Regions from separate parts of the Homo sapiens genome. Here region 1 is linked to region 2. Evidence: promoter capture Hi-C in human tissues and cell types (Jung and others, 2019). All regions are on one chromosome and are shown on one strand. Each heading gives the region's core, a stretch centred on a gene start or on the middle of the fragment in contact. The rest is flanking DNA. Distances are from core to core; before and after follow the strand shown.

The links. Contacts are between HindIII fragments. The study calls those that stand out against the background at their distance.
Region 1: the fragment with the promoter of ANP32D here is called in contact with a fragment that was not itself captured in region 2 in 1 of the 25 tissues and cell types used here (liver).

Annotation. Positions count from the first base shown.
Region 1 is chr12:48,470,096-48,474,549 of GRCh38, reverse strand. It overlaps ANP32D (acidic nuclear phosphoprotein 32 family member D), which reads right to left and starts at 1,991. Exons shown (of 1, transcript NM_012404.3): 1 at 928-1,991. The coding sequence starts at 1,885. The coding sequence ends at 1,490. It also overlaps a transcript of C12orf54 not described here. The HindIII fragment of the contact is 6,491 bases long and covers 371-4,454 here.
Region 2 is chr12:48,613,981-48,618,050 of GRCh38, reverse strand. No RefSeq gene overlaps it. Among named protein-coding and RNA genes, the nearest start is that of SNORA2C, 39 kb to the left of the region's middle. The HindIII fragment of the contact is 5,812 bases long and covers 1-4,070 here.

The sequences.
Region 1 (4,454 bases), core at 742-3,241, 140 kb after region 2:
AGTACTAGGGTGGGAGTGACCCGATTTTCCAGGTGCCATCTGTCACCCCTTTCTTGGACTAGGAAAGGGAATTCCCTGACCCCTTGCACTTCCTGGGTGAGATGATGCCTCGCCCTGCTTCGGGTCATGCACTGTGTGCTGCACCCACTGTCCTGCACCTACTGTCTGGCACTCCCCAGTGAGATGAACCCAGTACCTCAGTTGGAAATGCAGAAATCACCTGTCTTCTGTATCGCTCATGCTGGGAGCTGTAGACCAGAGCTGTTCCCATTCGGCCATCTTGGCTCCTCCACCTGGCTCCATAAAATTGTTCTAAGCACAGAAATACATGTAGAAGAATTCTCTCATCATTTTTGTAAAACAAAGCATTCTAATATTTTACAGAACAAGATAGGACAGTTTTTTTTTCTTGTAAAGAAGTTGAAGTTTGAGGGTTTGTTTCTTCACTTTTAATTATTATTACCAAATCCATTTTCCTTGTAACTCACAAGACTGCCATTTTCAGCTCTCTGGCTCTTAAGCTCTCAAGAGTAACATCTGAGTCCTCTTTGTAGAAGGAAGCCCACCACGATCTGTGAAGGGGGAAAAGGGATGAGAGATGGGGAATGTCCCCAAACCAGTGCCAAAATACACCTTTAGGTTGCTATTTACAAACCAGGGTGTTGGATGCCTCTAGCAGTTCCGCGAAAAGCATGTGAATCAAAGCAAAAGCTATGGCTGGTGCTCAGACCCTTCTGGGTGTTGAGTAACCAAACTGAGACCAGCCGCGGACTTCCACCCAACCTGAGACTTGGAAAATACCAGGAAACATAAGAGAACTCCAAACCATCTTCTTTGAGAGCCAGGAACAAATGCTTAGTGTGTACTTAACTATTGCATTTACAGGGACAAAAACTGGACACAAGGAAAAAGTAGGGGGAAAAAATAAAGAGTGGCAGTAAAAATAGTATTTTATTCCACCCCCTCCTCCCCTCCCTTCCCTCACAACCCCCAGTACACTTTTCCTCTCTTGCTCCCACAGCAACGTTACAATCAGAAAAAAATAAGTTTCAGGGGGCAGGATTGGAGTGGGGGAGGGGATACGGCTAAAAACAGTAAAATCACAAAAGGAATTTTTCAAAATAGATTATTCCACTTAGGCATCGTCTTCTCCCTCATCTTCAGTTTCTTATTTTCGCTTCTGACCCCTTTCTTCTTCACCAAGCTCTTCTTCATCTTCCTCATCATCTACCTCTCCATTGTTATAACCTTCATCCTTCTCCTCCTCGTCTCCACTCACGTCCTCCTCTTCACGTTCCTCCTCCTCATCCTCGTCCTCCTCATCTTCCATTACCTGAGCATCTTCATCATACTCCTCCTCATCCTCATCCTCCTCCTTGTCATCCAGGCACTCCACAAAGCCCTCACCATCCGAGTTAGGGGCCTCCTTGTCATCCGGGTCACAGCCGTTGAGATATGTGAGTTGCAGGAGGAGCTTGAACATCTTTTCTCAGTAGTTGTTCAGGTTGGTTACCTCGCAAGTGAAAAGGTCTAAGCTCTCGAGGTTTTCTAACTTTTTCAGGGGCTCTATTGTGCTGAGGTCTTTAATTTTGTTGCCACTTAAATTTAGATGTATGAGGTTTGGACACTTTTCTGCCAATACTTCTAGGCCCACTGAGGCTCTGTTACTGCTTAGTTCAAGCTTCTTAAGTTTGTTTAACTTTGGCAAGTTTGCAATTGAGGTGAGGCCTATGTTGATTGTATTTAATAATTCCAGTTCTTCAAATTCATCTGTGAGGCCTTCCAATTTGCCTTCATTTGACTGACTGTTGTCCAGGAAAAGTTCTTTCACATCGGAGGGCGTCCTGTTCCGCAGCTCTAAATGAATCCATTTGCCCATCTCCATCTCTCACGCTTTCTCTGCAGAGGCTCCTGAGCCAGCGGAATTCAACCAATAAACCCCGAACCCACAACCGCACATTTGAAAGCTCAACCAGCTCTGCTGGGTTCTCCGAAAGTAAATTCTTAATTCCAAACACACCCAAAATCTATTATCTCCCATCACATTAAATTGTGCTATCATTCACCCAGTTGCTCCAAAACCTTAGAATAATGACTACTTCCTCTATTTTTCTATTTTACATCAGATAGATGTATTGGCTGTACCTTTACAGTGTATCCTAAATCTGATCACTTCTCATCATCTCTAGGCCACGCCATAGTATATATCTCACGGACTGTTGTCAAAGCCTCCTAACTAGATCATTCTTATCTTCCTGCAGCAGCCAGAATGCTCATTTTAAAATGCAGAAAACCCTAAAGACTCTGCCAAAAGGTTAATAGAGCTGATAAACAGTTTTAGTAAGATTTCAGGATACAAAATCAATATACAAAACTAGTAGCATTTCTATACACCAATAGTATTCAAGCTGAGAATAAATCAAGAACACAACCCCATTTACAATAGCCACAAAGAAAATGAAATACCTAGGAATACAGCTAACCAAGGAGAGGTGAAAAATTTCTACAAGGAGAACTACAAATCACTGCTCAAAGAAACCAGAGATGGCACAAATAAGTGGAAAAACATCCCATGTTCATGAATTGTAAGATCAATATTATTAAAACGGTCATATTCCCCAAAGTGGCTTACAGATTCAACACTATTTCTATCAAATTACCAATGTCATCCATCACAGAATTAGAAAAAAACTACTCTGAATTCACGTGGAACCAAAAAATAGCCTGAATAGCAAAAGTAGCCCCAAGTAAAAAGAACAAAGCCAGAGACATCACACTACCTGACTTCAAACTATCCTATAAAGCTATAGTAACCAAAACAGCATGGTATCGACACAAAAACAGACACATAGACAAATGGAACAGAATAGAAACTTCTGAAATAAAGCCTTACACTTAAAAATATCTGATCTTTGACAAGACCAAGAAAAACAAGCAATGGGGAAAGGACTTTCTTTTCAATAAATGGTGCTGGGATAACTGGCTAGCCATATGCAGAAGAATGAAACCAGACCCTTACCTTTCACCATACATAAAAACTAACTGAAGATGGATTAAAGTTTTAAATGCAAGACTTCAACCTATAAAAATCCTAGAAAATATGCCCCAAAGAAAGGAAATTAGTATATAGAAGAGATATCTGCACTCCTATGTTGGTTCCAGCACTGTTTACTAAGATTTGGAAGCAACCTAAATGTCCATCAGCAGATGGATGGATAAAGAAAATGTGGTGCATATACACAATGGAGTACTCGTCAGCCATAAAAATAATGAGATCCAGTCACTTGCAACAACATGAATGGAACTGGAGTTTATTATGTTAAGTGAAATAAGCCAGGCACAGAAAGACAAACATTGCATGTTCTCACTTATTTGTGGGATCTAAAAATCAAAACAATAGAACTCATGGAGGAGGGGCTGGGAAGTGTAGTGGGGGCTGTTGGGGGGAGATGAGGATGGTTAATGGGTACAAAAAAATAAAAAGAATGAATAAGACCTACTATTTGATAGCACAACAGGGTGACTATAATAAAAATAACTTAATTGTACATTTAAAAATAATTTAAAGAGTGTAATTGCATTATTTGTAACTTGAAAGATAAATGCTTCTGGGGATGGATACTCCATTATCCATGATGTGCTTATTTCACATTGCATGCCTGTATCAAAACATCCCATGTACGCCATAAGTATATATATCTAATATGCACCCACAAAATTTTAAAAAATTAAAAAAGAATAAATAAACATAAAAATTGAAAACAAATTCTAGAAGAAAACCTAGGAAATGCCCTTGTTGACATCAACCTTGGCAAAGAATTTTTGGCTAAGTCCCCAAAAGCAATTGCAACAAAAACAAAAAAAAATGGACCAGTGGGACCTAATTAAACTAAAGAGATTCTGCACAGCCAAAGAAGCCATCAGTAAACAGACTACCTACAGAATGGGAGAAAATATTTGCAAACTATGCATCTGACAAAGATCTAATATCAAGACTCTATAAGGAACTTAAATCAACAAGCAAAAAGCTACCCCATGAAAAATGGGCAAAGGACATGAACAGACACTTCTCGAAAGAACACACACAAGTAAACATATGAGAAAATGCTCATCAGAGAAATGCAGATCAAAATCACAATGAGATACCATCTTCCACCAGTTGGAATGGCTATTACCAAAAAGTAAAAAAATAACAGATGTTGGTGAGGCTGCGGAGAAAAGACAACACTTCTACATTGTTGGTGGGAATGTAAATTAGTTCAGCCACTGTGGAAAGCAGTTTGGAGATTTCTCAAAGAACTTAAAACAGAAATACATTTGATCCACCAGTTCCATTACTGGGTATCTACCCAAAGGAAAATAAATCATTCTACCAAAAAGAAACATGCATGCATATGTTCATCGCTGCACTATTCAGAGTAGTAAAGACATGGAATCAACCTAGGTGCTCATCA
Region 2 (4,070 bases), core at 1,540-4,039:
CATCAAGAAGGTAGAACAATCTGAAATGTGTGTGGACTCAATAACAGAGCTTCAAAATGAAGTGAATGAGGGAAAAACTGATAGAGCTGAAATGACTACAGTTGGATATTTCAACGTTCTTCTCTCAAGCATTTATTCAACGAGTAGTCAGAAAATCAGTATGTATGTAGAAAACTTACAAAACACTATCAACCAACTTGATATGATTGACATTTATAGTACACTTCATGTATAACAGCAAGAAAGACTTTCTCACCAAAATAGACCATATGCTGGGCTATAAAACAAAACTCAATAAATTTCAAAGAATTAAGATAAAGCTGAATATTTTCTATTACCACAAGGGGAGTAAATTAGAAATAAACAACAATAAAATATCTAGAATTTAAGCAACATACTTTTATTTTATGATGATTTTTTTTTTTTGAGATGGAGGCTCGCTCTGCCACCAGGCTGGAGTGCAGTGATGCGATCTCGGCTCACTGCAACCTCTGCCTCCTGGGTTCAAGTGATTCTCTTGCCTCAGCCTCCCGAGTAGCTGGGACTACAGAGACACACCACCACACCCGGCTAATTTTTTGTATTTTAGTACAGACGGGGTTTCACCATGTTGGCCAGGCTGGTCTCAAATTCCTGACCTCATGAACCCGCCTCGGCCTCCCAAAGTGCTGGGATTATAGATGTGAGCTGGGATTATAGATGTGCGCCCAGCCTATTATTATGATTTTTTGAGAGACATAGTCTCACTCCGTTGCGCAGGCTGCAGTGCAGTGGTGTGATCATAGCTTACTGTAACCTCAAACTCCTGGACTCAAATAATCTTCCTGTTGCAGCCTCCTGAGTGGCTGGGACTAGAGGCATGTGCCACTATATCTGCTTAATTAAGTTTTTTTTTTTTTTGTAGAGACAAGGTCTTGCTATATTGCCCAGGCTGGTCTCAAACCCCTGGCCCCAAAAAATTCTCCTGCCTTGGCCTCCCAAAGTGCTGGGATTACAGGCATGAGCCATTGTGCCTCGCATGCAATGTGTGTTTAAATAACCCATGAGTAAAGGAAGAAATCACAAGGGAAATTAGAAAATATTTTGAACTAAATTATAATAATTACATATGAAAAATTGTGAAATGCTGCTAAATCAGTGCTTAGAAGAAACTTTATGTCTTTAAATGCTTATGTTAGAAAGATAAATATTTAAAACCAATAATTTAAGCTTCCACTTTAACAAGGTAGATCAGGAAAAGCAAGATGGACTCAGAGTAAATAGAACAGAGAAAATAACAAAGAATGGAAATCAATGAATATAAAGGAGAAAAACCAATAAAACAAAAATTAGTTTTTAAAAATTTGAAACAGGGTATTGTTCTGTCATTCAGGCTGGAGTGCAGTGATATGATCATGGCTCACTGCAGCCTCAACCTCTTGGGCTCAGGTGATCCTCCCATCTCAGCCTCCCAGGTAGCTGGAACTACAGGTATACACCACCATGCCTGGCTAATGTTTTAGATTTTTTGTAGAGTCAGGGTTTCACCATGTTGCCCAGGCTGGTCTTGGACTCCTAGGCTCAAGTGGTCTGGCCTTCCAAATTGCTGGGATTACAGGCAAAAAATTAGCTCTTTGAAAAAAATCAATAAAATTGATAAATTATCAGCTAAATTGACTTAAACCCAGACAAACACAAATTATCAATATCAATAAACAAAAGAAGAGGTATCACTACAAACCCTACAGATATTAAAAGAATTAAAAGGCAGTATTATGAACAACCTTATGCCAATACATTTGACAATTTAAATAAAATTTTTAAATTACTTGAAAGATGCTAATGACCAGAATGACATAAGAATTAATACAAATCTGAATAATCTTATATCTATAAAAGAAATTAAACTCATAATTGCTGTAGTTTGGTAGACTCAGCCATTCCAGTCTGCTGGTTTTGGAGAATATAAAGTCTGGATGAGGAAAAGTCCCTCACAAAGCAACACAGCCACCTTGCCAGACTGTGGTCAGACTGCTTCTTTAAGCGGGACCCCAGTTCATTCTTCCTCACTGGGTGCAACCTCTCTGTGGGAGCTTCAGCCACTCCAGCTAGGGTTCTACAGAAAAAGCTCTGATCTCTCCCTGGGATAGAGCCCCTGGGGGAGGTGCAGCTGCTGTCTTTGTGGTTTGGTTGACTCAGTCTTTTCCAGCCTATCGGCTTTGGAGAATACAAACAGTCTGGACAAGGAAGGGCTCCCCCCAGTGCAGCACACCTGCTCTATCAAAAAGCAGTCAGATTGCTTATTTATTTATTTATTTTTGAGACGGAGTCTCACTCTGTCCCCCAGGCTGGAGTGCAGTGGCATGATCTCGGCTCATTGCATGCTCCACCTCCCAGGTTCATGCCATTCTCCTGCCTCAGCCTCCCGAGTAGCTGGGACTACAGGCACCTGCCACCACACCTGGCTAATTTTTTTTTTTTGTTTTTTTTTAGTGGAGATGGGGTTTCACCATGTTAGCCAGGATGGTCTCGATCTCCTGACCTCGTGATCCACCTGCCTCGGCCTCCCAGGGTGTTGGATTACAGGCATGAGCCCACTGTGCCCGGCACAGATTGCTTATTTAAGTGGGTCCCTGATCCCATTCCTCCTGACTGGGTGAGACCTCCCAACAGGGGTCTCCAGACACCTCCTACCAGTGTGTTTGGGCCAGCAACAGGTCAGTACCCACCTGGGACAAAGTTTCCAGAGGAAGGAGCTGGCAGCCATCTTTGCTGTTTTGCAGCCTTCACTGGTGATACCTCCAAGTACTGGAAAAAACAAGGCAACTAGGGTCTGAAGTGGACCCCCAGCAAACCACAGAAGCCCTACAGTAGTGTAGCTTGACTGTTAAGAGAAAAACAAACAAGCAAACAAACAAACAGAAAACAACAGCAACAACATCAACAAAAAAGACCCCACAAGAAGTCTGTTCAAAGGTTAGCAACCTCAAAGATTCAAGGTTGATAAGCCCACAAAGATGAGGAAGAATCAATGCAAAGAAGCTGAAAACTCAAAAAGCCAGAGGGCCTTTTTTCCTCCAAATGACCACAACACTTTTCCAGCAAGGACACAAAACTGGGCTCAGGCTGAGATGGCTGAATTGACAGAAGTAGGCTTCAGATGATGGGTAATAATGAACCTCACTGAACTAAAAGAGCATGTTCTAACCCAATGCAAAGAAGCTAAGAATCATGATAAAACAATATAGGAGGCTGGGTGCAGTGGTTCATGCCTATAATCCCAGGACTTTGGAGGCTGAGGCAGGCAGATCATGAGGTCAGGAGTTTGAGACCAGACTGGCCAACATGATGAAAACTGTCTGTACCAAAAATACAAAAAAATTAGCTGGGCACAGTGGTGCTTGCCTGTAATCCCAGCTAATTGGGAGGCTGAGGCAGGAGAACCAGTGAACTCAGGAGGCAGTGGTTGCAGTGTGCTGAGATCAGGCCACTGCACTCCAGCCTGGGTGACAGAGCAAATCTCCACCTCTACAAAATACAAAATGAAACAATACAGGAGCTAATAGCCAGAATAGCCAGTTTAGAGCGGAACAAAACAGACCTGATGGAGCTGAAAACACAACATGAGAACATCACAATGTGTCACAAGTATCAGTAGCAGAATAGACCAAGTGGAGGAAAGAATCTCAGAGCTTCAAGACTATCTTGCTGAAATAAGACAGGCAGACAAGAATAGTAATAATCTCGGAGCTTGAAGACAATCTTTCTGAATAAGACAGGCAAAAAAGAATGAAAAGGAATGAACAAAACCTCAGAGAAATATGAGACTGTTTAAAAAGACCTAACCTATGACTGATTGGGGTACCTGAAAGAGATGGGGCAAATGGAGCCAAGTTGGAAAACATACTACAGAATATCATCCAGGAGAACTTCTGCAACCTAGCAAGACAGACCAACATTCAAATTCAGGAAATGCAGAAAACTCCAGTAAGATACTCCACGAGAAGATCAACCCCAAGACACATAATCCTCAGAGTCTCCAAGGTCTACATGAAAGAAAAAAATGTTAAGGGCAGCCAGAAAGAAAGGCT